Regions from separate parts of the Homo sapiens genome. Here regions 1, 3, 4, 5, 6 and 7 are each linked to region 2. The links are contacts of gene promoters, found by promoter capture Hi-C in blood cells and fetal thymus (Javierre and others, 2016). All regions are on one chromosome and are shown on one strand. The core of a region is centred on a gene start or on the middle of the fragment in contact, and the rest is flanking DNA. Distances in the headings are between cores, read along the strand shown.

Region 1 (3,762 bases), core at 361-2,860, 320 kb before region 2:
ATGGGGTATTTCTCCATGCCCCTCCCGCTCCCCTAGAATCAGGCTGTTGATGTTTGTTGCTCAGTGATAAATGGAGCTTATCACTTGTTTACTATAAGTGGGGCTGTGGAGGGAAATAGGGCAGTTTTGTTCTCATGCCTATCTCAGTCTTAGGCAGGCTCTGTGCACTCAAGCCTCAGAAATGACGGTTTCTTAGAATTCATGTCCTCCCTCTGCCCCTCACAATTAAACTCTGTCCTTTACTGGTACAGATTCTTGGGTGGGAGACAGTTTCCTGCCCTTCCTCAGCAGTAACAGACTTCTAATTTGTAATTTTGCAGAATCTCGGGCCTAGGAGAGTTTCCACCCTTTCCACCAAGTACCATCGGCTGTATGTGCAACCCATCTCGGGCTTCAGAAGCAGTGGGTCTTTGCCTAGGTCCTTGGGTCAGGTCCCTTCTTCCGTTTAAGGCTTTCGATTTGAATAAGAGAAGATTCCAGGAAGTGCATGGTTTTTCATACCTGTGTGCAACTTAAGGGGACTGACTCTCTTTGGTCTCTTACCTTACCCATTATCTTCCTTATGAGGTCTATGGAAATGACCTTGTGCATAAGGGCAAACTGCTCTTGTGTTTGAAGCTTCCAGTTATTACACTCTGTCATGCTAACTTATACTCATCTTTCTGAATTTTTAAAATTTTAGCTATTTCTTCTTACTTTTACAGGGACTATCGCATCCTCCCATTCTCTGTCAAATGTAAAACTATTCACATATCCCAGTTTTCCCTGGACGGACTTGGCATTTAAAAAAAATTCAGTTCTCCTGGTTACCTTACAACTTCAGCTCTCTGATGAGCTCAAGCAAAGTTATAATTTCACAGATTATCCAGATTTCTCTTGTTGTTAGGCTGGGAACTATATTCTCTTGCAATTGTCTGCATCATAAGTGGAAGCAGAACCTGTGGTGGTGGGTAAATAGATCCTATTCACTGTTCTTCTTACCCTTTAGTTCTTCTATCAATGTGTGGACAGAGCTCTCATTTCCCTCTTGTGTTTTACGTCACAGGCTTTTGGGAAATTAAATATATTGCTCCTTGGTAGATTGTACTTTTCTCATCAGGCATCCATAGTCAATATTTATCTAAGGGGAAATTGTATTTTAGAGGCTTAACTGGTAATTTACAAACTTTATAAACTTGTAATAAAAATATATGAGTTGGTAAATTTTCTTTTTACAAGAAATCACTTTTCATTCTAAAAGTAATTTATTAACAAAGTAGAAAAATTTTAAGTGCAGAAAGATAGAAATAAAGAAATACAGTGACATCAGCAAGATGGCAAAATAGAAAGTCCCCAGGCCTCACCCTTCTACTGAAACACCTGTTTAGCAACCATCTATATACAAAATAGACCTTTATGAGAGCTCTGGTTTTCAGGTAAGAGGTTGCAGAACCCTGGTGGAGCTCAAGACCTAGAAAAACTTCACTGAGAATGCAGGCTCATGCTTTCTGGCAGCAGAACCACCAGCCATGGGCCTGGAAGCAGCCTTGCTCACTTGAACACCTAGTGACAGCACTGCCTGTTCACTGCTCATAAGGAACTCTGCCCATATACAGACCCTACAGGAAGCTGGCTTCCCATGTCCCCAATGGCATGACCACTTCCACAGAGCAGGGGACTTGGTGACAGACCCACCCACTTTCCCACAGACCCAGGGGCAGCCCTGCTCATCTGCCCGTGGACCCATCAGCAAACTTGACTGCTCATGGAAACCAAATGCAGCCCTACTCTCATGCAGATCTCAACAGAATCTCTGTCTGTGGCGCAGCAGCCCAGTCCTCTAGTGGACCTTGGAAGCAGGCCCACCTGCCCACATACCCAGCAGCAGGCCAGCCCACCCACAGACTCTGGCAACAGGCCCACCCACGGACCATGGCAGCAGATCCACCCTTGGACCCCACCCAGCTTAAGTCTGCCCGCAGGCACTGCCTGCTTACTCTGGCAGCTGATCCACCCATAATCTCTGACCAGCATGACTGATGAAGGTCTTTGCCTGCTGAAAGCAGTCAGTAAGAACTGGAAGAGGTGACTACTTCTCAAATACACAGACACCACTCTAAGGCTACAAGGATCACAAAGAATCAGGAATTCTCGATACTACCTTATTAGGAGCTGAAAAAGACTCCAGTAACTTACCCTAAATAAATTGATATCCATAATCTGCTTGACAAAGAACTCAAAATAATTGTCTTAAATGAGCTGCAAGAGAACAGACAGCTAAACACAATTAGGAGTATAACATGTCAACAAAATCAGAAGTTCAACAAACATATAGAAATAATAAAAAAGAGCCAAAGTGAAATCCTAGAACTGAAGAATACAATGACTGAACTAAAAAACTTAATACAGAACTTCAGTAGCATACTTGGTCAAGCAGAAGAAAGAATCATTGTACTTAAAGACAAGTCATTTGAAATTATCCAGTCGGAAGAACAGAAAAAACAGAAAGGTTGAAAAGTGAAGAAAGCCTAAGATCTTATGGGACACCATAGAGTGAACCAATATATGCATTCTGGGAGACTCAGAAGGAGACTAAAGAAAGAAAAAGAGGAAGAAAGCTTATTAAGGGAATAATTGCTAAAAACTTTCCAAATCTAGGAAGAGAAATGAACATCCAAATTCATGAAGTCTCAATGTACCCAAGTACATTGAACCCAAAGAGGTTAACACTGAGTCACCTTAAAATTGAATTTGATGGACTGGATTAAGAAAATGTGGCACATATACACCATGGAATACTATGCAGCCATACAAAATGATGAGTTCATGTCCTTTGTAGGGACATGGATGAAGCTGGAAACCATCATTCTCAGCAACCTATCAGAAGGACAAAAAACCAAACACCGCATGTTCTCACTCATTGGTGGGAATTGAACAATGAGAACACATGAACACAGGAAGGGGAACATCACACACCAGGGCCTGTTGTGGGGTGGGGAGAGGGGGGAGGGATAGCATTAAGAGATATACCTAATGTAAATGACGAGTTAATGGGTGCAGCACACGAACATGGCACATGTATACATACGTAACAAACCTGCACGTTGTGCACATGTACCCTAGAACTTAAAGTATAATAAAAATATAAATAAATAAATAAATAAATAAAATAAATAAAAATAAATAAATGTAAAAAAGAAAAAAATTGAATTCTCAAAAGTCAAGTAGAGAATTTTGAAAGCAACAAGAAAAAAGTGACTTATCACAAACAAGGGAACCATTATAAGGCTACTAGTGGACTTCTCAGCAGAAACCTTGCAGGTGAGGAGAGAGTAGGATGATATATTCAAAGTATTGAAATTTAAAAAACCTGCCAATCAAGAGTACTATATCTAGGTCAAAGAATAAATCAAAAAAGGAAATTAGAAAATATCTCAAGACAAATGAAAATGAAAGCACAACATATTAAAACTTATGAGAGGCAGCAAAAGCAATACTAAAAGGAAGTTTATAGTGGTAAATGGCTACATTTAAGAAGAAGAAAGATCTCAAATAATTAATTTTACATCTCAAGTAACTACAAAAGAAGAAAAAACTAAGCCCAAAATTAGCAGGAGGGAAGAAATAATATAGATTAGGGGATAAATAAATATAAGACAGGATATGAAAACAGAAAAACAAAAAATTGATGAAGCTAAGAGTTTGTTGACGAATCCTTAGTTAGACTAATGAAAAGGAAAGAAGTTGCAAATAAATAAAATTAGAAATGAAGGATGAGACTTT
Region 2 (3,336 bases), core at 17-2,516:
ATGGGACAGTTCGGTCCGTCGTGGGACCTTTAAACTCCGACCTGGCTGGCTGCGCGGGTGCCCAGGTCTCCCGGCCTCCCACGCCACCGCTCAAAGTCCGAGAACAGGCTGGACGATACCGCAAGGAGATCCCCTGGGATGGCCGGGCCCGGGTGCCCGCCGCTCCCCGGAGGGGTCCCAGATGTGCGGGCTGCGTACGGAGCTCCAACATCTGCGCAAAGGCCCAGGGTGGGGTGGCCACCGGGTGGGCGCTGGCCAAGAGGAGCCCGGGGCGCGAGGTCTTTTCTGAAAAAACCCTTTCGGGGAACTCCAACGCAGGTACGCGGCGCGTGGCAGTGAGTCCCAACTCCCAAAACTGGAACGCGAGGTTCCGGGTCCTGAGCTGCGCGTCCCCTCCCCCCAGCCCACGCCCGGGCCAGAGTGGTGCTGGGGCGAGCTGAGAATCAGGCTCAGCGGCCGGCAGAGTGCAGGGCGTGTGCAGGGGAGCTGCCGCGGCACCTCCCCGCCCGGAGTTCTGTCTGCCACCCCCTTTTGTTATAGGATGCGCTAGGAGCTTTCTCGGAGGAGCAGGCGGGTCGGTTGGGAGTGGTGGGTGGTTGATTCTGTTGAATCTCTTTCCTGCTCTTTCGTCGTCCCCATTTCCCCTCTTCTGCCCCCACCCTTTCCAATCCAGGTCCCTTAAACCTGATCACTTTCCCAGATTGAGGGAAGCTTCTTGGGCAGCCGAGGGACAAGAGGGGAGGAGGTGGAGAAGGGTGTCCGTGTCTGTGTGTGTGTGTGTGTGTGTGTGTGTGTGTGTGTGTGTGTGTGTGTGTGTAGCGGGGTGGCTGCGGTTGCGCTTCGGCCTGAGCAGATCCCAGCGCAAACTTTGGGGAAGACACAAGCCCGGGAAAGTGAGTGAGCGCGGCGCGATGGGGGTGGGGCGGGATGCGGATCTGGGGCCCCCCGCACCAGTCCACTGGAAAATCCCTCCCCACGTGGACCCCCATCCCCAAACCTGCCCACCCAAGGTGCCCGCCGCCTCCCCTTACCGTGGCAAAAGTAACCATGGCATCCGTGTGGCCGTTTCCAGGGACGTCGACATGAAGAGAAAGGTGGACGCGAGCTCGGTCATTCAAAGTCTCCCCCACCCCGCCGCAGCCACTACCCAGCAGGGGAAAAAGGAGAGGAAGAAAGAAAGGAGAGAGAAGAAAGTAGTTGCGCCGGGCTGCGTCGCGGGGCGGTGCGCGGAGCTGTTCGGAAGGGAGAGGAGCTTCAACTCTGAGTCCCGTGAACAGAATCTGCGCGGTTATAACCAGCCAACCCGGCCAGATGGCTCCGCGCTCAGCGCCTTAACCCCTTCCGCGCCGCGCCGCCCTCCCCCGCCGGCCCGCGCCGCGCCGCGCGCGCCCGCGCCCCAGAGCCCCCCCCCCGCCCTCACTTCGGGACCCGTGGCGGGGAAGGGGTCATTTCTCCTGGCCCCTCTTGAAAAACAAAACCAAACCAAACAACAACAGCAACAAAAACTTCCAAATCTGTAGTATTCTTCAGTAACCCCCACCCTTGAGTTCCCTTTTAGAGATCCAGGAAAAAACGAAACGTTAAATGTATCGTAACAGGTTACATGTTAGTGTCTTCAGCCTTTCTTAGTGGTTCTTTTTCTTGAAATTTTTCTTTTTGATCTTTTTTCTTTCAAGATTTTCTTTACAAGGCATCAGGGCCTTTTCCTGCCTTTTTCCTCAGGAGGATCAGGTCTGAGGCGTAAACTCCTCCTCCAAACCTTAGACCCTTCCAGCTCCAGATCTCTCCCCACCCCCTACCAAGCCCACCCGCCACTCCTCCCCCCACCCCACAGCACGAACACGCCCAAGGACAATCGCTCCCCGGCGAACTCCCCGCTCCCGGGGACCCGCACCCAGGACGCTGTGTCGGCGGTCAAGGGAGGTCAAGGTAGAGGGGCGTGGGGGCGGGTGGTCCGAGGGACTAGGGAGGGGCTGTGTGTGCGCGCGCGTGTTTGCGGGAGCTTGAGTGTGGAAGGGAGAGGGAGATGGATCGCAGCCTCCCATTTCACCCATCCTCCAACTTCTAAACCCCTTCCTTCCAAACTAGGATGGGGCCCTGCAGCTAATCACTCGCCCAGCACCCACCAGTCTGCACGCGGGGACAGCGCGAGAAGCAGGAAAGGCGAGCAACAAACAAACCTGTTCGTGGCGCCCCGAAAGTAATGACGCTCACTTCCCCACCGGTGGATACATTCGAGGAGAGGATAGGGGGAGGGGGTCAAAATCTCTTATTTGGAGATAATTTTAGCTGCCCGTTAGACCTCACTTGCTCCGAGCCGTTCTCTCTAAATTTACCAAGTTAAGTCATCTTGATTTCGCCCATTTGCCATCGAGAGAAGGGGGAAAAATACCACTTAGTGATCAACGAGAAATCGAGAGCCCGGAAGCAGAGTTTTGCCCACTTGCCCGCTTCCCGAGTCCTTGCGTGGTGGACCTCCGCTCCAAGCCCCTCATCCCTTCCTCCCTGCCACTTCAGCCGCTCCTCACATCATCTCCTGCCAGGACCTTTTGACTCACGCGCGACTGGGAAGGGCAGCGAGTATCCCGTTTCCTCCCTGCCCTGTCGTTCGAGGTGTCTAATAAGCAAGCCGTTCCGCGTTTCGGTTAGGGCCCAGGTTCAAAAAATCCAAATACCTTGAAATTGCTTGAGAATTTGGTTAAACATCGGAACTGCACCCACCAGTTCAGGACCAACCGGCCGCAGAGAGTAGCTGGGGGGTTGGATGGGGAGGTGGGAAGGGAGGGGGGAGTCTGGGGGCTGCGTACTAGATAGATTGTACCTGCCTCATCATTATCCTGGCTGATGGGGGTTGCCACATCGAAAACCGCCAGAAGCGCCCACCGAGGCCCAGGGGCGTCACCTCCTGCGGTCCCTCGCAAGGGTAGGGTAGTCCTTCAGTGGCTCCCCTCGTGCCAAAATATCGACGTCTTCCTCAGGGCCAGAAGAGGCTGCCGAGTCGTTCCCTCCACCCAGCCACACAGCACCATGAAGGTTTGGATTGGGCGTGCTCTGTCGGGTTCTGCTTTTCTCCCTCTCATCTGGCCCGCCTCCCTGCCCTCCCCCACTTCCCGCACTTGCCCCCCTCCTCCAGCTTCTCGCCCTGGTCAAAGGAGGGATTCAGGCCCCAGTTTCAGATCCACTGGCAGAGTTCTTTTCTCAAGCTCCAGGTCCTCTGGGAACCTGAAGATTGCAAGGAAAGAGGTGGTTGGCTCCTGCTGCAGCAGGGAAGGGGTTAAATACATGTGCGGGCTGATCTGCAGGCAGCTCCCAGGTCCCTGGCAGTCTGGAGGGAGG
Region 3 (3,743 bases), core at 909-3,408, 470 kb before region 2:
GTTGGACTTTCTGTCCAGCCCAGCACCCTGGGCAGTCGGACTCTCGGCTTGGATAGGGTGACTGCTGGTGTTCGTATTACTGCCTTGTTGAGTTTCCACTCAGGAATTGATTATTCTCAGGTGGTAAGGGCTGAGGTCTGTTTGACCGTGGATATTTTAGCCCATGCTGTTGATCCGTTCTTTCTGGGCTCTTCCAGCCCAGGGAACTTACACTTAGCTCATCCACAGGCCGTTGGAGGGTGAAGGCTTCTCAGGCCTCAGAGAGGACCTGTGAGTCTTAGCAGCTTTTCAGGAACAGGAAACAGAAGGAGTGGAATTTGATGGGTGTGCTTTTCTGTTGTTCTCTGCAGACACGGGAACCCCCAAAGGCTTCAGAGTGGAAGCCCCAGGGTCCTCGGAGCTGGTGTGGGTTTGCTGCTGGCTCCCTGCACACGCTGCCCGTGCGTGGTTACGAGTTTGTGTGTGTTGCTATGTACTGCTCTCACGGTGCATTGTGGAGTTGGGGAGGTTGCATTCAGACCAACTCAGGCCACGCCTGTGAGCAGGGTCTGGCATCCCAGCTCTGCCTGCTGAAGGCTGAGAGCATCAGTGGTATGCGTGGGAGCTGCCTTCCCCACTGGGCTCCCCAGGAGCACGATGTAGCAAGAAGAACTTAGGGTATGGAGAGTGAAGGGCCAGGTTCACTGATGTGTGTCTTTGTGCAAGGTTCTTAGCCATGCCGGGTCTATTTTCTTATCTGGGATCTGTAGCCCACACCGTTCATGGGCGAAATACTTCATGAATTGTAATGTGTCATAAAATAAGCCAAAGTTGGCTCTCCCACCCTGTCTACCTTTGTGCTTCAATTTTCCTTTTTTTTTCCCCCTCTTTATGGGCTGAGTTGAATTCCCTTCCTATTTTCTGAATGAATGAAACTGCTTGATGAGTGGATTAGGCATCCCCAAAGGGAGAAGGTGCAGGGAGTTTACTGTCTTGTTAGGAAATTAGAAAATTCATGAACAGAGAGTTAACAGTTCAAGGCATATGTGCCAATTGCCTCTTTTCTGGGCTCCCAGAGTAAAAGGTTTCACAAATACTGGTTATTTGAATACCATGATTATGAGTTTGAATACCACTACTTACTAGATTCCTAATTTTAGGCGTAGCCATTTACTATCTGGACTATTATTTGCTGAATATTTTTGTTAAATTGGCTCACTTTTGAAACTTAAATTTATTTTAAAGGGAAACATTCTATCATTATCAGAAATGGAGAACCAATATCACTGGCCAACAGATAGACAATAATTATAAAAATAGGCACAACCGAAACAAAACGACATCATTCATTTCTAGCTGGATACTGTTGGCTGCAGGAGATCCGAGACCGGGGCCTGCTTACTCTTTGTTGAGAAGGAAGCTTAGCTAGCATCAGAGAGGTTAAAGACATATTGGAAACAAACGGAGACTTTATTTTTGCAGGATAATTGAAAACGGACTTTCTTGTTATTTAAAAATGTTATTTGATGCTATGTTGCATCCATCCATCATCTAATGCCTCTCATTCTGTACTTGGGCAACATTACCAAAGCACCTAGTACACCTTCTAGAGCTATGCTTGCCGCTGAATGGATTGAAGACTTTTAGAACAGAGACTGTGTCTTTCTAATTTATTTTTATTTCTATTTATTTTATTTTTATTTATTTATTTATTTATTTATTTTGAGACAGAGTCTCACTCTGTCACCAGGCTGGAGTGCAGTGGTGCGATCTTGGCTCACTGCAACCTCCACCTCCCAGGTTCAAGTGATTCTCCTGCCTCAGCCTCCTGAGTAGCTGGGACTACAGGTGCGCACCACCATGCCCAGCTAATTTTTGTATTTTTAGTAGAGACTGGGTTTCACTGTGTTGGCCAGGATGGTCTCAATCTCTTGACCTCGTGATCTGCCCGCCTTGGCCTCCCAAAGTGCTGGGATTACAGGCATGAGCCACTGCGCCTGGCCTTTATTTTATTTTTGAAAAATAGGGATGGGGTCTTGCTATGCTGTTGACCAGGCTGCTCTTGAACTCCTGGCCTCAAGTGATCCTACCATCTCCCAAAGTACTGGGATTACAGGTGTGAGTCACCATGGATGGCCTCTTTTTTTCTTTTTCTTTTTTTTTTTTTTTTAACAATGTGTGACATATTGATAATATAATAGCCTTTAGTGCTGTTTGTTGAATGATTCAAAGCATAATGCCTAGCAAAGATAATACATTGTAGAGTTGCTCCAGGAGGCAGAGATGCCCAGGAGCTTGAGTTGACAGGGAAGGCCAACTGGAGAGGAAGCCCTTGGTGCCTTCTCCTAGCCCTGCCCCCAATTATAGCAGCCTGGGATCTCTGTGTGTCAGCTCCTATCCTTTTCCTGCACTGAAACCTTCTCCAATTCCTGCCTCTCATTCAATAGCAGTATTGCCTTTGGTTCTCCCATCTCCTTCCTCAGTCTGGGAAGAAAACACCACAGCAATCTGCAGCCCGCTCAGAGCCACCCACCCTGAGGAGACGCCCGAAGAGAGAAAGCTAGAAGCCGGGGTGGGATGAAGGGATAGGGGAGAGAAGGTGAGAGAGAGGAGACCTGTAGGGTGAACCTGAGTCCCTGAACAGGCTGTCATCTGGTCCAGTGTTTTGGGGATTTGGTGACCTGTTGGGGAAAGAGGTTGAGCCCTGGGGTGTTAGCAGATTTTTTTTGTATCTTTCCACCCTTCCTTCTTTTCTAGTTCTGGCCTTCTCTTCTTTCTTTCAACCCTCTCTGGCTCTGTGCCATTGGGCAGATTCCAAGGTCATAATGATTACTTTGTCATGGACTTGGATTTGTCATGGGCTCTTCAGAAAAAAGACGCAGACATGATTTCCTAGGGACAGTATGTCAGGCACTGTCTCCTTGTCCTGAAAGCTTCTCTGGTGGTGGGATCTTTTCCAGTCATCAGGAACTTCCTATTCAGTGTTGCCAGGAATACCTGCTCTCTCTTTCCTGCCACTGGGGCCTCATGAATCTTGGGCCCCTCCCTCTCTGATCCCTGTACTTCTGCTTTTGAAGTTATTAGTAATAAGAGATGCTTCTACTGTGCTAGGAACATAAAGTAACTCATTTAATCTTTAAAACCACTCCATGAAGCGTATACTACCACTGCCCCTATTTTGCAGATAAGAAAACCAAAGTTACATAACTTGATCAGGGTCATCCCAGCACTGCCCCCAGGGTGATGGGGGAGCTGACATTCCACACCGTCCTCCCTGCCAGAGCCCCAGGTGGCTCCAGGTGCCACACGGCCCTAACACGCAACAGCACCTGGTGCTCCCTTCAATTCTTTCAGCGTTATCCCCCAGCCTCACCCCCCTGGGAACCCTTGCTGCCAGTGAGGGATTCAAACCCTGAGCCTGAGCTCTCAGTCACTGCCGTGTCCTCCCTCTCCAGGGATGAGGTTCCTGCTGTCTGAGCTTGGCATGGGGAAAGGGGAGTCCTAGAGTCCACTGTTTGGATTGTCAGCCACTTAAGAAAGTTCAGGGGAGGAGAAGAACACCTCTGAACTTGAGAGTATCCTCTTCTTATCATTTTGTTCCCTGTTCCCTTTGTTCTGCTGATCCTGTCTTCCCTCCTGTCAGCCTAGGTGGGAGCTTGTGGGTTGGGAAAGAGCTGGATCCCTGCAGATACCTTTTAATTACCCTTGGGCTGTGTTTGTGGTGAGAATCAGTCTGCTCAGGACTGCCCCTGAGACAGGTGTAT
Region 4 (3,508 bases), core at 88-2,587, 300 kb before region 2:
AAGGAGGGTGCCAACTGACATACACCAAAGCTTGTGCACCCTCTAGTCCTCCCACCTGGGTGCCTTCAGCAGGTGGGTCACCCCAGGAGGGGTAGAACAAGCAGTAGGGCTTAAGTCCGGCTTGGAAACCAGAGACAAGCCAGAAGAAGACTGGAGACTGCTTTCTTCTGAGGGTGGGGAAGGAAGGAAGCAACCAAGCCCAACGGCCCACCCCCCTGGGCCAGTGCAGGTCTGCCTGTGGGTGTCCCTGTGGACATCATCATGGGACTTATTGAAGGACTCCTCTGATCCTGTTTGTCCTTTTTGCAGGGAGATCTGTCAGACCTCCAGAGTTTTATACTCTAAAATGGGATAATCTTCAGCTCAGTGGGCCACTCTTGCCCATTACCTTCTGTCACATCAGGAATACCCTGGGCCTCTTAGAGAGTGTGGCCTTATCTGAACACAGATATCCTGCCCACCCATCTCTCTCCCACCCCTCGTGTATAACATCAAAGCTTAGATATCCTCAGTGACTTCTTTCTGGTTTCACAGGAAACCAAATCCTCTGCCTACCTTTCTAACCTCAGCTTGTGTCATTCTCCTCCTTGCTTAGACCTTCCAGCTACCCAGGCCTTCATTCTGTCTCGAGCTCATTCCAGCCTTTGCCCTGGTTATTCCTGTTGCACAGACTGCTTTTCCCCCAGACTCTGCAAGGCCTGTCTTCTCGGCTTTTGTGTCTCAGTGAAAACATTGCCGTCTTCAGATTGGCCTCCCCCAACTCCCCAATCTGAAGCAGCCATTCTGCTTTATTTCTTCTGCTATTCTTATCCTCATCTGCTAGTTTCTCATTCGTGTGCTGGTTTACTCACTGTACCTTTTCTCTACTTGGAGAAAAGTTCCAGGGAAGGAGGGATCTTGTGTCTAGGACTGGCAGTATAGCCTCAGTGCCTGGAAAGAGCTCAGAGTATAGCAGGTGCTTGATGACTCCTGGTTGAAGACATTTGTTGGATGTATCTCTGGACTTACCTCTTTACATCAGACAAATGTGGTCCTGAGCAGGCTTGGGTTCTTCCTCCCAGCTGGCTCCTGGGGAGACTGACCACGTGGAAACAGTTCCCAGAGTCTCGATGGGAGGGGTGATGATCTGTGATGACTTGGTATCAGATAACCCATCCAGTGCTGTTGTGTTTGGGGAACATCAGGAGTATCAGGCTGATCTGCCCGTGGCTGGGTGTGTCAAAGCAGCCCTCCCGGGGGCTGGATTCTGCTCTGGCCAGGAGCTCAGTTGTCCAATTTGAGGGATTCCATAACCTCACCCCACTTGCTTGGCTGCAAAGAGGGAGGTCCTTGTCAGGCCTGCTTCAGCTGAGTGCAGCGCAGCCTGTCTCTTCTTTGAGTTTCGGATTCTTGTCTGAGTGCTTAGGAAGCTAGGCTTGCTTTAAAAAGTTAAGGGTTATGGCCGGGTGCAGTGGTTCACGCCTGTAATCCCAGCACTTTGGGAGGCCGAGGCGGGTGGATCACCTGAGGTTAGGAGTTCAAGACCAGCTTGGTCAACATGGTGAAACCCCATCTCTACTAAAAGTACAAAAAAATCAGCTGGGCCTGGTGGCATGTGCCTGCAGTCCCAGCTACTCCGGAGGCTGAGGCAGGAGAATTGCTTGAGCCTGGAAGGCAGAGGTTTCGGTGAGCCGAGATCATGCCACAGCACTCCAGCCTGGGCGACAGAGTGAGACTCTGTCTCAAAAAAAAAAAAAAGAAAGAAAAAAAAGATGAGGGAGCTTTGAACTGGGGCCCAGCATGGGGGGAGGTGAGCCACAGCCACACCTAGAGGGATTCAAGCAAACTCCTCTGTGTGCTGCCACATCATGTCCTGGAAAGCCAGAGATAATCAGAAACATCCTGTCGGTCAGCTGAGGGTGCCTCCCTTAGCCCCTGTGCAGGGTCTGGAAGGGGAGAGGCTCCTCTGGCTTGAAGAGATGTAGAACCCATGTTCTGGAACTCACTGAAAGATACTGCTAAGTTTTTAATTAAAATCTCCCATTGGAATAATGTAGAAGAAAAGCAACCAAATTTCAGAGGCCATGGGGGAGAACCTCAAACCATACTTCTCTAAGTATTCCTGCAGGTTATTAATTGTTACAGGCAAAAGTTGCTCTGCGGGAAATGATGTGCTTAGGAAAATTAAGCAAGCTTCTTGACAGTAGTACTTTTCAGAGTTTTGAATGTGCTCACTGTGACTCTCAGAAAGTCGATACGTTCTAGTGTTTTCCAGTCTTTTAGACCTTGGAATCCTTTTTTAGCTGAAATTCTCTTGGCACACACATTAGGAAATGCTGTGTTGGAGAACGGATGAAGGTGAGAGACAAAATCAAGTGCACTTTACAAGCGTTCAGAGATTTCTGTGTGTTCTGCATGGTGCCAAGTACTGTGCAAAACATAGAATAATACAGAGCAGGTAGCTGATCTTTATGTTAGGATAAGAAGACTCTCACATGCAAAACAGCGAGGAAAAAATAAAAGAAAAATATGTAATGAAGATCTACAGTGTGTGGTATAAGCTATAAAAGTTTCGGAATTCAGAGAGGGAGGAGACCCCACCTGGTAGGTATGTTGCAACAGTTGGAGAAGTCCTCCTGGAAGGGGTGGGACTGACGTCCCCTCGGAGAATGGGTGAGGATAGAATGGCACCGCCTGCAGTTGTTTTAGTTATGCTTGTTAGTCACTTACATGGTCTGTCCTCTCCTGCATCATGGCGTGTCTTGGGAAAGCCAGAGACAGGTCAAAAGCCTGGCCCGTTGACCTTTGGAATCTCTGACATATGGACAGGGATAAGGACATGTGTGTTCCCTGAATGGCAGAGCCCATTGTGAGCCAGTACCTGAATCCCTGCCCAGGAGTTATCGATAAACGATGCAGGAACATGAAGTCCTCACACCTGTAGATGTTTGTTCTTGAGCTGGAAACCGTAAGGAAGACCTGCCAATGAGGCCAGGTGTACACAGTTAAATTTTCTTTGAAGTGAGTTATGCATTTTCCTACCCCGGCATCTGCACTGATTTGACCATGGTCCTCTGGATTAGTTAGGTGCTCTTTCCCATGCCTGGTGACTCACAACTCAGGTTTGTGTTGCTGAATGGCCCAGTGAGGTCTCTTGAGCATTGCTGTTACTTGCCAATGAGTTACTCACCGAGGCTGCACAGGAAACAGGTCCAGGCAAGTGAGTTTTAAGATTCCCTATGGCCACCCTTGACTTTGATGTTTATTGGTCGCCATTTTAGCTCAGAGAATAATGGAGCAGGGAAGGAGTTTTGTTGTTGCCCTCACTCCCAGCTGTGGGGCACATCTGTTTCTCCAGCTGGGAGTTGGCTTGTTGAAAGTTAAAGTTTGAGGTCTGACGATAGTTGGTGGGATGACCAGGGATATCCCTCTGCCTCTGGTGAAACTGCTCTGCAAAGCACTGGGCCCCTCTTCGTATCAGCCATCCAGTTAACATTTCCTCTCTTTTTCTCAACACCGGCGCTATCCC
Region 5 (3,285 bases), core at 249-2,748, 330 kb after region 2:
CATAAAAGGGAGAAAGTCCACTTGAAGTAGAAGCAGAATTCTCCAAAAGCAGTTTTAAACTCACAGCAGGCATAGCACCCAAGGCTTAAAACCTAATGTTTGATCTATATAATAGGTATTTTAAATCAGCAACATTTGAAGAAATGGGTAAAACAGTGCTTTGAAACATCGTGTTACTAGCATAAAAGTAATCTACCAATTCAAAAGGGAATTACATTTATAAGAAACTGTAATAATAGATATGATGAAATATCATTTTTGCCAGAACTCAATTTTAGATACTGAGTTCATCTGACCTTTAAAGTTCAAGAAAAGTCAGTATTCCAGTGTGTCTAAATAAATCCATGCAGCTTCTGAATGGAGCTGGAGTCCGTGTGTTTCTCAGTCTCCCAAGACTTAGACTCCTCAAACCCTACTCAGAACAGCAACAGATGTCAATCTGACAACCTATCTTCTCCTCCCTCACACTAAATTAGGACCCTATAGAACCTCAAGAGAGTTTATTCAGATTACCCAGAGCAGACCATTCAGGTCAGGTTCAGGGAGCTGGGAGAAGAAAGTTATCAAATCCCTGCCACAGGCTGACGTTGAAGAAAGCCTGTTTCTTCTCATCTGCTGGGATCTGGGTCTCCAGCACTTCTTCAGCCTGAGAGGCTATTTTTCTTTCTCTCTTTCTTCCTCTTTTCTTTAAATAAGTACCCAACGGCTGGGAATGGCTTCCTGGAACCCCTTCTTTGTTTCTCCCGGAAATGATGATAAATTCATGGGTTTGCCTAAGAAAAATAAACCCAAGACTTCCAGCTGCTGGATTCTGTACTTTATTCCCTAGATTAGACAAAAGGCTTATTCCTCTTTCAAACATACCAAATTATCCCCAGATCAAAGTTTAAGCCCTTGAAACAAGTGATAAATGATAAGGCCCACAGGCCCACGGCTGTTCCTAAAAGGGCTTCTGTGGTGAGAGAGCAAATCTGGTTCCAATAGTAGGAAGAGAAGTTAAGGACTTTCTAATCCTATTGTAGTGGGGAGAGGATCAGACCCGCAGTCCTCAAGCTTTTACTTAACTGGTCATGATGCCTGGGGGACACGTTTGGTCCTAGGTGTGTCTGAACATGTGTAGTCAGTAAATAATGTGCTAGAGCTAATTCTTAGCTTTAGTGTTAGTATCTAGAATAAAAAATGTTAAAACAGTATACTTTTGAATAGCTTAAATAATTGAAGGAATGACACATTCTGGTGAGTTTAATATTTTAATAGCCAGAAAATATTTTTGCTCCTAACTCAGGTTGAATTTTTTTTATATATATTTATGAGCTGATCTCATTGTGTAACAGAAAGAGATTCAACACTGACTCTTTCACCATCCAGCAGGGGCCCCTGGGCCAATTTGATTTCCTTCTCAGAGCCTCAGTTTTCAAATCTGTTGGACTATGTGATCTTTAAAGCACCACGCTGCTCTAATATTCCATGGCCTTGCCTTGAGGACAGTAGACTCCACCGACTCTTCCTTTGACTCTGAAGGATCTCAAAGGAGGATCATTCTCCAAAGTGTCAACTCTGATACTGCTGGACTTGGAGAAGGAACAAGAGATTGGGTTGGATGTGCCCTTCTCGTGGAAGATGAGTGCTGCTTTATTTTAAGCCAAAATCTAATATTAATTCCACAATTTATTTCAACATGCATTTGCTTCCAAGTGCTTACTAGATGCAAGCAGCTGTTCTAGGTGCTTTGGGTGCTATAAGGAAAAACAAAACATAAATGTAGCCTTCAGGAACTCAATAGGGGAAATATGACCTGCATTGGACAGATAGCAATATTAGAAGGTAGCCTGGATTAGTGCTGAACTCCAGGTAAAAGGAACTGAGGGATTATTTGGAAAGGAAAGACACATATCAAAGAAATCTGGCTGAAAACATTGAGCAGATAGCTGAAGAAAGCTTACTTTCTAGTGCTCTGATATTTTTCCCTCTAAACTACTCTTTTAAAGGCCACTACAAAAACTTATTTTAAAGGCCACTAGAAAAACTTATTTCTAGAAGGCAAGAGTCTTCATGCTATTTATGGTAGGGAGAACTGAATGTTATATATAAGTTAGTTAATTTTATTGGTGGTTTATAAGATGTACTAATAACATAACATTGAGAAGGGTCAGAGGGCAAACACTAGTAAAACTTTAGGAATTTTTTTGCTGAAATTTTAAAATTTATTTAACTAGCAGTATATGACACATGGAGCTCTGTGTGTTGATGGTGACCTGTGATTTCCATCACCAGTATGGGGCATCTCATCCTCTTCTCCATCGGACCAGCCTTAGGAACAGGAACTCAGACTTTCACATCTTTGTGTGTGGTAGGTGTTCTTCCCTACTTTTAATAGGTGGATGTCTTGTTTATCCAGTCAACATGGAGATAGTAATGTTCTTTCTGATCTCTCAAATTATTAATGTATCTTTTGAAGAATTACTTTCCAAGTTAACTGAAGTTGAGCAACTAGAGAATTTCCCTACCCCAGAGAGTAACTGCCATTCCCCTTGCTTCATGCTTTCGTGCTGAGATGTCCACTGAGTAATACGTCCAGCCTTTCTCCCTGGCTTGGTCCTGGCCCTTCATGGGCCTTTACTTAGACGGACTTGGTGTATTAACAACTAAGCATATTGTGGTCTCTCTTCTTTTCCCTTTCTTTGGCACCACTTTCCTGACACTGAGATTGGGCATGTCTACACTCCAAACCATAATTCTTCCAAGATAATGGAAGGGCTAATTGTGGCTATCTGTCTCAACCACTTAGTTGAATTCAGCTTAATTCCTAGTAAAAATGGCATTTTGGTATTCGTCTGTCTGACTCTTGTATATTCTCAGCTGATTTAGAACTCAGAAATATTTAAAGAATGAGATCAGTTATCATCCACAAAACTCAGCATCTTAGAGCAGGGTTATTAAGCAACGATAACTACTGAGTGGGCTTACAAAATCCTTAATAATTTCTCTTTGTCTGTAAAAGATCCTATCCTTTTAGGAGGGAGAAAGAAAACACACTGGATAAAATTGCAAACAGGGACCCTGTCATTAAAATTCTTCATCTATTTTACCCACAATACAAAGCCCAGTGCTGGGCACTGATGAGTTGATACAAATGGTGCAAACCCTTGCACTTGGTGGAGGAGAAAGGGAGGGAGGAGGAAGGGAGCATCCCAACCACAGATTTTGTCTGTATGGAAGCTAATCCCCACTTGGAGCTGGAGTTAACTAGCTTCTGCCACACTCTTCTCCACTCTGGCATGACAC
Region 6 (3,408 bases), core at 658-3,157, 410 kb before region 2:
CCAGACATGAAATCTGTGGAGATGCAGGAACAGATGGCCTTTGGACTATGTGCTGGGGACTTCCACTTCCTAGAGCGCGGGTCCTTGGGGCGTCTGTAAACACGACGGCTCCACCTGTGAGGTCTGCGGTGCAGTTGCTGGGAAAGCCAGTGAGAAGACTGCTGGGGCCCCGTGGTGCAGGAGGCAGAGCTTGAAGGCACCCATTTTAAGGGAGAGACAGCAAACGTGACAAGTGGTCCACCTTGAGTTCCACTATTGGCTCTGCCACCATTAACCTGGGGTTACTTGATTCATGTCTTAGTCTGTTTCCTAAAATGGACTTGAGATGGATGACAACCAAAAGAATTTTGGTTGTAAAAGGACAGATAAAAAGAATCATGTAACTGGGGAGGGGGGGAAGTAGGGAAGTGCAAGGGAAATGATGATAGTGGAAACTAAAAATAAGGGTGATGGATGCAGGAGAGACAGAGTTGCATTCTGGGCTTTCTGGTAGCCAAGACAGAAAGGACTGTGGCTCACAGTCGTCTATAGGAATCAGCATCTGTTTTGCCAAAGGAGGCAAATTTTTCCTGTTGTAAATGACATGAACAATACAAGGGACTATGTTTTCAATAATAAGTTCACACAAGCTTCTGCAATGTTCTTCATGTGACCATTGTTTGCACTGATTCTGGATAAAACTGAGGATGTAATGTTAAAGTGTAGTTGAGGGAGGGTTGAATACAGAGTAATGTGTGAAAATTTCTGAGGGGCTAACTGGGTTCAAAGATAACGGTTCGAGCAGAAATGCCACTGACACTTTAATTCTTTTCGGTTGAACCCATGTTTTGAAATGTTTATGTCTACTAAACTGCATTTATTAAAGAATAAGTTATCTTCTTTTCCTGAAGAGAAAACATATGTAATTGCTATTAAGCATTATTTATCAGTGTGAAAAAAATTGGTGTTTCCACACTGAGCTGATAGAATTCCAGTTAGAAAGCAAAGAAACTTGGCATTTTAGTTAGCTTCAGTGGCCCTTTAGGAGGGAAAGGTAATTCCATTTAGCTTTGGAAATGATTGGAAATTGTTCTCAGGTACTTGTTATTGTCTCTGTAGAGACTCTGATTTGGTAGCCCTGGCTTTTGCAAAAGCTTCACAGGAGGACTTCTTCCTGGTTCATGGTGCTCGCCCGGCCTGAGGGACTCTACTCAGCCAGGACTGCAGCACCTCTTATTTCTCAGTTATCCAGATTTGAGGCTTGTATTAGGGTTCTCCAGAGAAACAGAACCAACAGGACACACACACACACACACACACACACACACACAGAGGTGTTATGAGGAATTGATTAATACAATTATGGTGGCTGGGAAGTCTCAAGATCTGCAGTTCATGCGATGGAGACCCAGGAGAGCTGATGGTGTAGTTCCAGTCTATGTCCAAAGACCTGAGAACTAGGAAAGCCAATGAAGAAGCTCCAGCAGCCTCAAGACCCAAGAACTGATGTTTCAGTTCAAGTTTGAAGGCAGGAAAAGACTGATGTCCCAGCTCATGCAGTCAGGCAGAAAGAGTTTCCCCTTACCTGTGGGAAGGTCAGCCTTTTTGTTCTATTCCGGCCTTCAACTGATTGGATGAGGCCCACCACATTAGGGAGGGTAATCTGCTCTACTCAGCCTACTGACTCAAATGCTCATTTCATCCCAAAACACTCTCATAGATACACCCAGAATGTTTGACCAAATATCTGGGCACCCAATGGTCCAGTCAAGTTGACACATAAAATGAACCATCACAAGGCTTGTACTTTCCAAGTCAATAATCCTCTTTGTTAGGGAATGAATAGTGGCATTCAAAAAGATATGTCCAAGTCCTAGCCCTGGAACCTGTAAATATAATCTTATTTGGAAAAAAGATCTTTGCAGATATAATTAGTTAAGGATCTCAGGATGAGATCATCCTGGATTTAGAATAGAACTTAAATCCAATGACAGGTATCCCTATAAGAGAAAGGCAGAAGGAGATTTGAGAGGGGAGAAGATTATGTGAAGAAGGCAGAGACTGGAGTTATGCAGGCTCAAAGTGAAGAACACCTGGGGCCATCCAAAGCTGGAAGAGTCAAGAAATAATTTTTCCCTTACAGCCTTCAGAGGGAGTGCAGCCCCACTGATACCTTGATTTCAGGCTTGTGACCTTCACAACTGTGACAGAATAAATTTATGTTGTGATAATTTGTTATGGCAGCACTATGAAACTAATACACTCTTCTTCTGGGCAGGAAGCAGTAAGCAGACAATTGAAGACCTAGGTCTCTGGTAGGCTTGTTGGCTTTCTCTGTATTCCAAGAATCCACTTTGCAGATTCTAAGATAACTTGGAGTAGTCTTGTTTATTTGTTGTCATTGGGTTTGGGAGTTTTATGGAAGAGACTTGGTGCATGGATCTTCCTACGTGACCTTGGCATGTCTATGATGACTTTTTCATGTTCCATTCCTGTTTGATGAAATAGAAGTAGAGGCTCACGTTGTTATGAATGGTGGAAGGAGACCCAATGTGGCTCATGTCAAGAAGAGCTTACTCCACTCAAGAATTATTTTCCTATTTATACTTCTATATCCAAATACAGTAATTGGCTTAAGTAACAGCTTCTGCCTCAGTAAGAGGTGTCTGCAAAGAAGGATATTAGCATCTTTTAAAGCTTGTCCATATTTCATAATTCTTACATTTGACTTTGAGGAAAAAGATTCATAAAACCGCTTTGAATTATGCCACTCAAAACAAATTATCTTGAGATCAAAAGTCTTATAAGTATAAGTTGATAAATAAATTAATTGAGTTTTAAATATAGTTAATACTGCATCCCATGTGCTAGACCATTTCGTAAGAGCCTTATGTACGTGATTTGTTTTCACCTTCACAACAACGACATGAGGTAGATATGACCGTTAGCTTCATTTTATAGATGAGAAAATTGAAACTCAGAGAGGTTAATAAACTTATCCAAGGGCACACACCTTGAAGGAGATAGTCAGGGACTCAAAATCATGTCTGTCTGACTCCAAAGCCACGCTCCTGCTCTCTCACTTTACTGAAAAATCCATAACTGGACTTGAGGTAGTGGATAGTGTGGTCTAGAATGGCATTTCTCAAAGTATATTTTTTAGAATGAAAGTCTTTGTTCTTCTTTTGGATTTTTTTTTTTTTTTTTTTTGAGATGTAGTCTTACTCTGTCGCCCAGGCTGGAGTGCAGTGGAGCGATCTCGGCTCACTGCAAGCTCCGCCTCCTGAGTTGATGCCATTCTCCGGCCTCAGCCTCCTGAGTAGCTGGGACTACAGGTGCCTGCCACCACGCCCAGCTAATTTTTTGTATTTTTAGTAGAGATGGAGTTTCACCGTGTTAGACAGGATGGTCTCGGTCTCCTGACCTTGT
Region 7 (3,596 bases), core at 91-2,590, 450 kb before region 2:
AACCTTGACTTCTTAGCATGATGCCTTGCATCCAGAGGATTGGTTAAAGGCTGTAAATCTCAAAAATGAGCATGCTGTATAGCCCCAGGAGAAATTACAATATTGCCCCTTCTGAATTTCAACCCCTTTGGCTTTGAGAAGGCTGTTGATTTTATTATTGATCATTGAGTTTGATCTGATGCATTTCACAGAGACTTGGCTCTGTGGCTGTGCCCTTGGCTCCAGGGGCAGCAGCTATACTGATGATGAGTTTTTCCATTCCCCCAGCCAGAAGGCAAGAGGTGGTAGGGTAGATGCACATGTACTCCTCCCTTTCTTCTGGAAAGTCTGATTTGGATGCATGCATATGTGGGTTTCTTTAGATTAGATGGTGTGTGTTAAAAATTGCTCTTGACATTCTGCCACAGAGAGGGGGATAGATGGAGTGACCTTTGGAAGGCCCCTCTCAATAGAATAGTTATAAAGTGTTTTCTTGCTTTTCTGTAGACTGCACATTTCTTTTTTTCTGTAGACATACGTAGAATACTAGACAACTTATTCTGGAAGGGATGCTCTGAGGTCATCTTTGTCCATTGCTCTGGTTCTGGAAAGAATCATCATAAATCCAGTCCATCATGAGGATAGTAGATTCATTTTGGGGTAGCCAATATAGTTGCGCTTCCATCCATCCACCCACCCATTCCACCCCTCAATCCACTCATCCATCCATCCATCCATCCCCCACCTACCCATCCACTCATCCACCCATCCACTCATCCATCTATCCACCCACCCACCCACCCATCTATCCATCCATCCACCCACCCATCTATTCATCCATCCACCTATCCATCTCTTCATCCATCTGTCCTTTCATCCATTCACCCATCATTTATCAAATATCTACTAAATTCTAGGAACACTCCTAATCTGCTCCTTATTATTTAATTTATTTTGGTATTTCTATTAATTGAGAAGATCCATTCAATCCTTGCTTGACTTGATTTTTCTATTGCATTTGAAACAGTTGACTCCTTCCTCCTGCTTGACATTTTCCCTCCCTTGGGTGTCCAGGAGCCCATGATTCTTTCCTGAATCTCCTCTGCCTCTATGGGCTTCCTCTTATTCTCTTTCATGTGTTCTTTCTTCCTTATCTGTCATTGAAGTATCAGTGTTCTCAGAGTTCTGTCTTCAGATGTTTTTCTCTCCTTTTTCCTTTCCTTTGCTCTTCTTACACACACTTTTCTGGGCAATTTCATACATTTATGTGGCCTAAGTTACTATCTAACTACCTACGATGACTCTCAAATGCTCTTCTTTAACCTGCACTTATCCTGCGTTCCCCAGGCTCTTATGTCTGTCTCCTGAACATAAATGCCTGGATTTATGTTTTGGAAACATCTCAAGTTTAAGGTCTTCATAAAAAAACTCAGTATCTTCTCTGTAAAACCTGCGACTTCTTTATTCCTTGTCTTGCTGGTTGTCTTAACCATTCTCCCTGTCAACTACAACAGAATCTGGAAGCCTCCTTAGATTCTCTCTCCTCTCGTGTTCTGGTGGACACCAGGTCATGTCAATTCCATTTCCCGTATCTGTTTCTACCTTACCTTCCCCATTGCCACAATCTAATTCCAGCACTCACTATCTACCCTTGTGTGATTGAACTTCTTTCTAGATTTGCCCCTCCAAACCATCTTCATGCTCTATCAGAGTGATCTTTCCAAATGCAAATCTGATTAAGCCATTTCCTCATTAAAATCTTTCAATGGCTTCTAAGCACCTCAGAACGAGTTCACACTTCTTAAGCATGTTGTCCCAGGCTTTCACAATTAGTCTCTTGGCTACCTCTTTGCTTTTACTTGACCCCAAATGCACACCCTAGGCTGGAGTCAAACCAAACCACTTGTCATGCTGCTTCTTGCCTTCAGCCCCTGCCCCTGCTCCTCTCTCCATCTGAAATGCTCTTTCTTCTCTTAATATGTTGGTCTTAGCTCAAGCATTGTCTCTTCTATGAAGTCTTCTTTGACCCCTTAGGTTTCCTCTTCCCCACTTGTATTGCACCCTGCAAATATTGTAATAATTTGTTTTCATGTCTGTTTCCCTCCTAGATATTGAGCTTCTTGACAATGAGAATAGTGTCTTTTGTCCTGGTAACCCTAGTGCTTCACACAGGTCTTGTATCGAGAGAGAGAGCTTACTTAGCACGTGCTTATGACTATACCGTTCCCTAAGATTATTTTTCCTCTTCTGATCTGTATCTGAGCTATAATAACTTGTTTATTTAGACTTTTCCTTTTATCTTATCATGTCAGAAGTTCACCAAGAAACTGAAGGGCTTCTGAAATTGGCTTTGTTTCTTGGGCTTGAGTACAGTCCCTTCTTATTTACCTGCCTGCGGCTTCATCTGCTGATTATTGATGATTTGAAGAAAAAATTGTTTATGTGGAATCAGCTTCACGTGGCTCCTTAGCTCTGACCCTGCTTCTGCTTCCTTTCCCTTTTCCCCATCCTTATACCTGGGGAGCAGGAAATGCAGACAGCTTCAGTGTCAAGCCATGTTTTAAGTGGAGAAGGATGAAGAACACTGTCATGTTCTCGCAGGCCTTCCACACTTGTAGACGCACCAACTGTCCCACTTTTAGTGTTCCTGATGGTCAATTTCTCTTTCTTTCTTCAAACCAAATGTTAAGCCTGAGCAGGACATGATTAGCAATCTGCTTGAGGATAAAATGTTATAAGGTATGCGTTTGTTCCCTGCTCCATCTCCTATGGAAAACCACACCCTCAGTGAAGGTACTACTGGACAGTGTGTTTCTTCAGGGAGTCTCACATCTCAGTGCTGCCTTTCCTGGCATCTCTAAGTCACAACAGATCCTGTTTCCAGCAAGTTTGTATGGCCACATAAAATGCTGTGTAAATCAGTGTGGGAATGTGATGTTCCCAGTAATCTGTTGGCTCATTGAGGGATCGATGATCTCTAGCTTTATTGGTATTGGGTACTATGTTATTTGTTTGTCTATGTTATTTGTCTGTGTTTGTCTATGTTGTCTATGTTTGTCTATGTTATTTGAATCCAGCTTAAGAGAAAAATCAATAATGCCAATGTCAGGGGCATGCATCTATCTTATAATTAGTGAATCAATGAATTTATCAAGTGTTTTGGACATACTTGTTATGACCCAGGCATTGTGCCAGGGCTGGTAACACAGTGGGGGACAGAACTGGTGCCCGCCCAAGGGGGCAGCGTGGTATTATGGAAAAGCACTTAAGTGCTATAGACCTGAGCATGAATCTCGATTCCACCACTCCTTAATGTGTGATCCTCACCAGATGAGTCAACCTCTCTGAGCCTCAGTTTCTTCATCTATAAAATGAAGATTATTCTACTTCCCTTACAGCATTATCGTAAGAATTGGAGATAAAATACATCACGCACAATCTGGTTTGTACAGTGCCTCACATTTAATAGACAGAGAGTCATAATTATTATTCCCATTCATAGTAGTGATTGTAGTAAAATGGAAAACCAGAACTTTGTGTGCCTTGGCTTACTGCAATAGCTGAAATTTATAGTGGTACATTCCCTGATAACAGACATGACTCTTAGTGCTGCATAG

Evidence for each region. The method cuts DNA at HindIII sites, captures the fragments that hold promoters and counts their contacts. A CHiCAGO score of 5 or more calls a contact.
Region 1: a fragment that was not itself captured here is called in contact with the fragment with the promoter of NTF3 in region 2 in 1 of 17 cell types (endothelial precursors); the score reaches 5.5 in endothelial precursors.
Region 3: a fragment that was not itself captured here is called in contact with the fragment with the promoter of NTF3 in region 2 in 1 of 17 cell types (endothelial precursors); the score reaches 6.0 in endothelial precursors.
Region 4: a fragment that was not itself captured here is called in contact with the fragment with the promoter of NTF3 in region 2 in 1 of 17 cell types (endothelial precursors); the score reaches 5.7 in endothelial precursors.
Region 5: a fragment that was not itself captured here is called in contact with the fragment with the promoter of NTF3 in region 2 in 1 of 17 cell types (activated CD4 T cells); the score reaches 5.8 in activated CD4 T cells.
Region 6: a fragment that was not itself captured here is called in contact with the fragment with the promoter of NTF3 in region 2 in 1 of 17 cell types (endothelial precursors); the score reaches 5.1 in endothelial precursors.
Region 7: a contact is called between a fragment that was not itself captured here and the fragment with the promoter of NTF3 in region 2, in 1 of 17 cell types (megakaryocytes). The highest score is 5.9, in megakaryocytes.

The regions. Positions count from the first base shown.
Region 1 is chr12:5,754,774-5,758,535 of GRCh38, reverse strand. The region is part of intron 10 of ANO2 (anoctamin 2); the gene reads left to right. Among named protein-coding and RNA genes, the nearest start is that of ANO2, 190 kb to the left of the region's middle. The HindIII fragment of the contact is 1,979 bases long and covers 621-2,599 here.
Region 2 is chr12:5,430,038-5,433,373 of GRCh38, reverse strand. NTF3 (neurotrophin 3) reads right to left here and starts at 1,266. Exons shown (of 2, transcript NM_001102654.2): 1 at 1,032-1,266. The coding sequence starts at 1,049. RefSeq lists an enhancer at 1-449. The HindIII fragment of the contact is 3,984 bases long and covers 714-3,336 here.
Region 3 is chr12:5,904,754-5,908,496 of GRCh38, reverse strand. All of the region lies in intron 3 of ANO2 (anoctamin 2), which reads left to right. The region is part of intron 3 of LOC105369621 (a long non-coding RNA gene); the gene reads right to left. Among named protein-coding and RNA genes, the nearest start is that of ANO2, 39 kb to the left of the region's middle. RefSeq lists an enhancer at 1-462. The HindIII fragment of the contact is 1,513 bases long and covers 1,402-2,914 here.
Region 4 is chr12:5,732,881-5,736,388 of GRCh38, reverse strand. All of the region lies in intron 13 of ANO2 (anoctamin 2), which reads left to right. Among named protein-coding and RNA genes, the nearest start is that of ANO2, 210 kb to the left of the region's middle. The HindIII fragment of the contact is 1,675 bases long and covers 500-2,174 here.
Region 5 is chr12:5,101,957-5,105,241 of GRCh38, reverse strand. No RefSeq gene overlaps it. Among named protein-coding and RNA genes, the nearest start is that of KCNA5, 60 kb to the right of the region's middle. The HindIII fragment of the contact is 885 bases long and covers 1,056-1,940 here.
Region 6 is chr12:5,845,348-5,848,755 of GRCh38, reverse strand. The region is part of intron 4 of ANO2 (anoctamin 2); the gene reads left to right. Among named protein-coding and RNA genes, the nearest start is that of ANO2, 98 kb to the left of the region's middle. The HindIII fragment of the contact is 1,543 bases long and covers 1,136-2,678 here.
Region 7 is chr12:5,878,024-5,881,619 of GRCh38, reverse strand. The region is part of intron 3 of ANO2 (anoctamin 2); the gene reads left to right. Among named protein-coding and RNA genes, the nearest start is that of ANO2, 65 kb to the left of the region's middle. The HindIII fragment of the contact is 4,681 bases long and covers 1-3,596 here.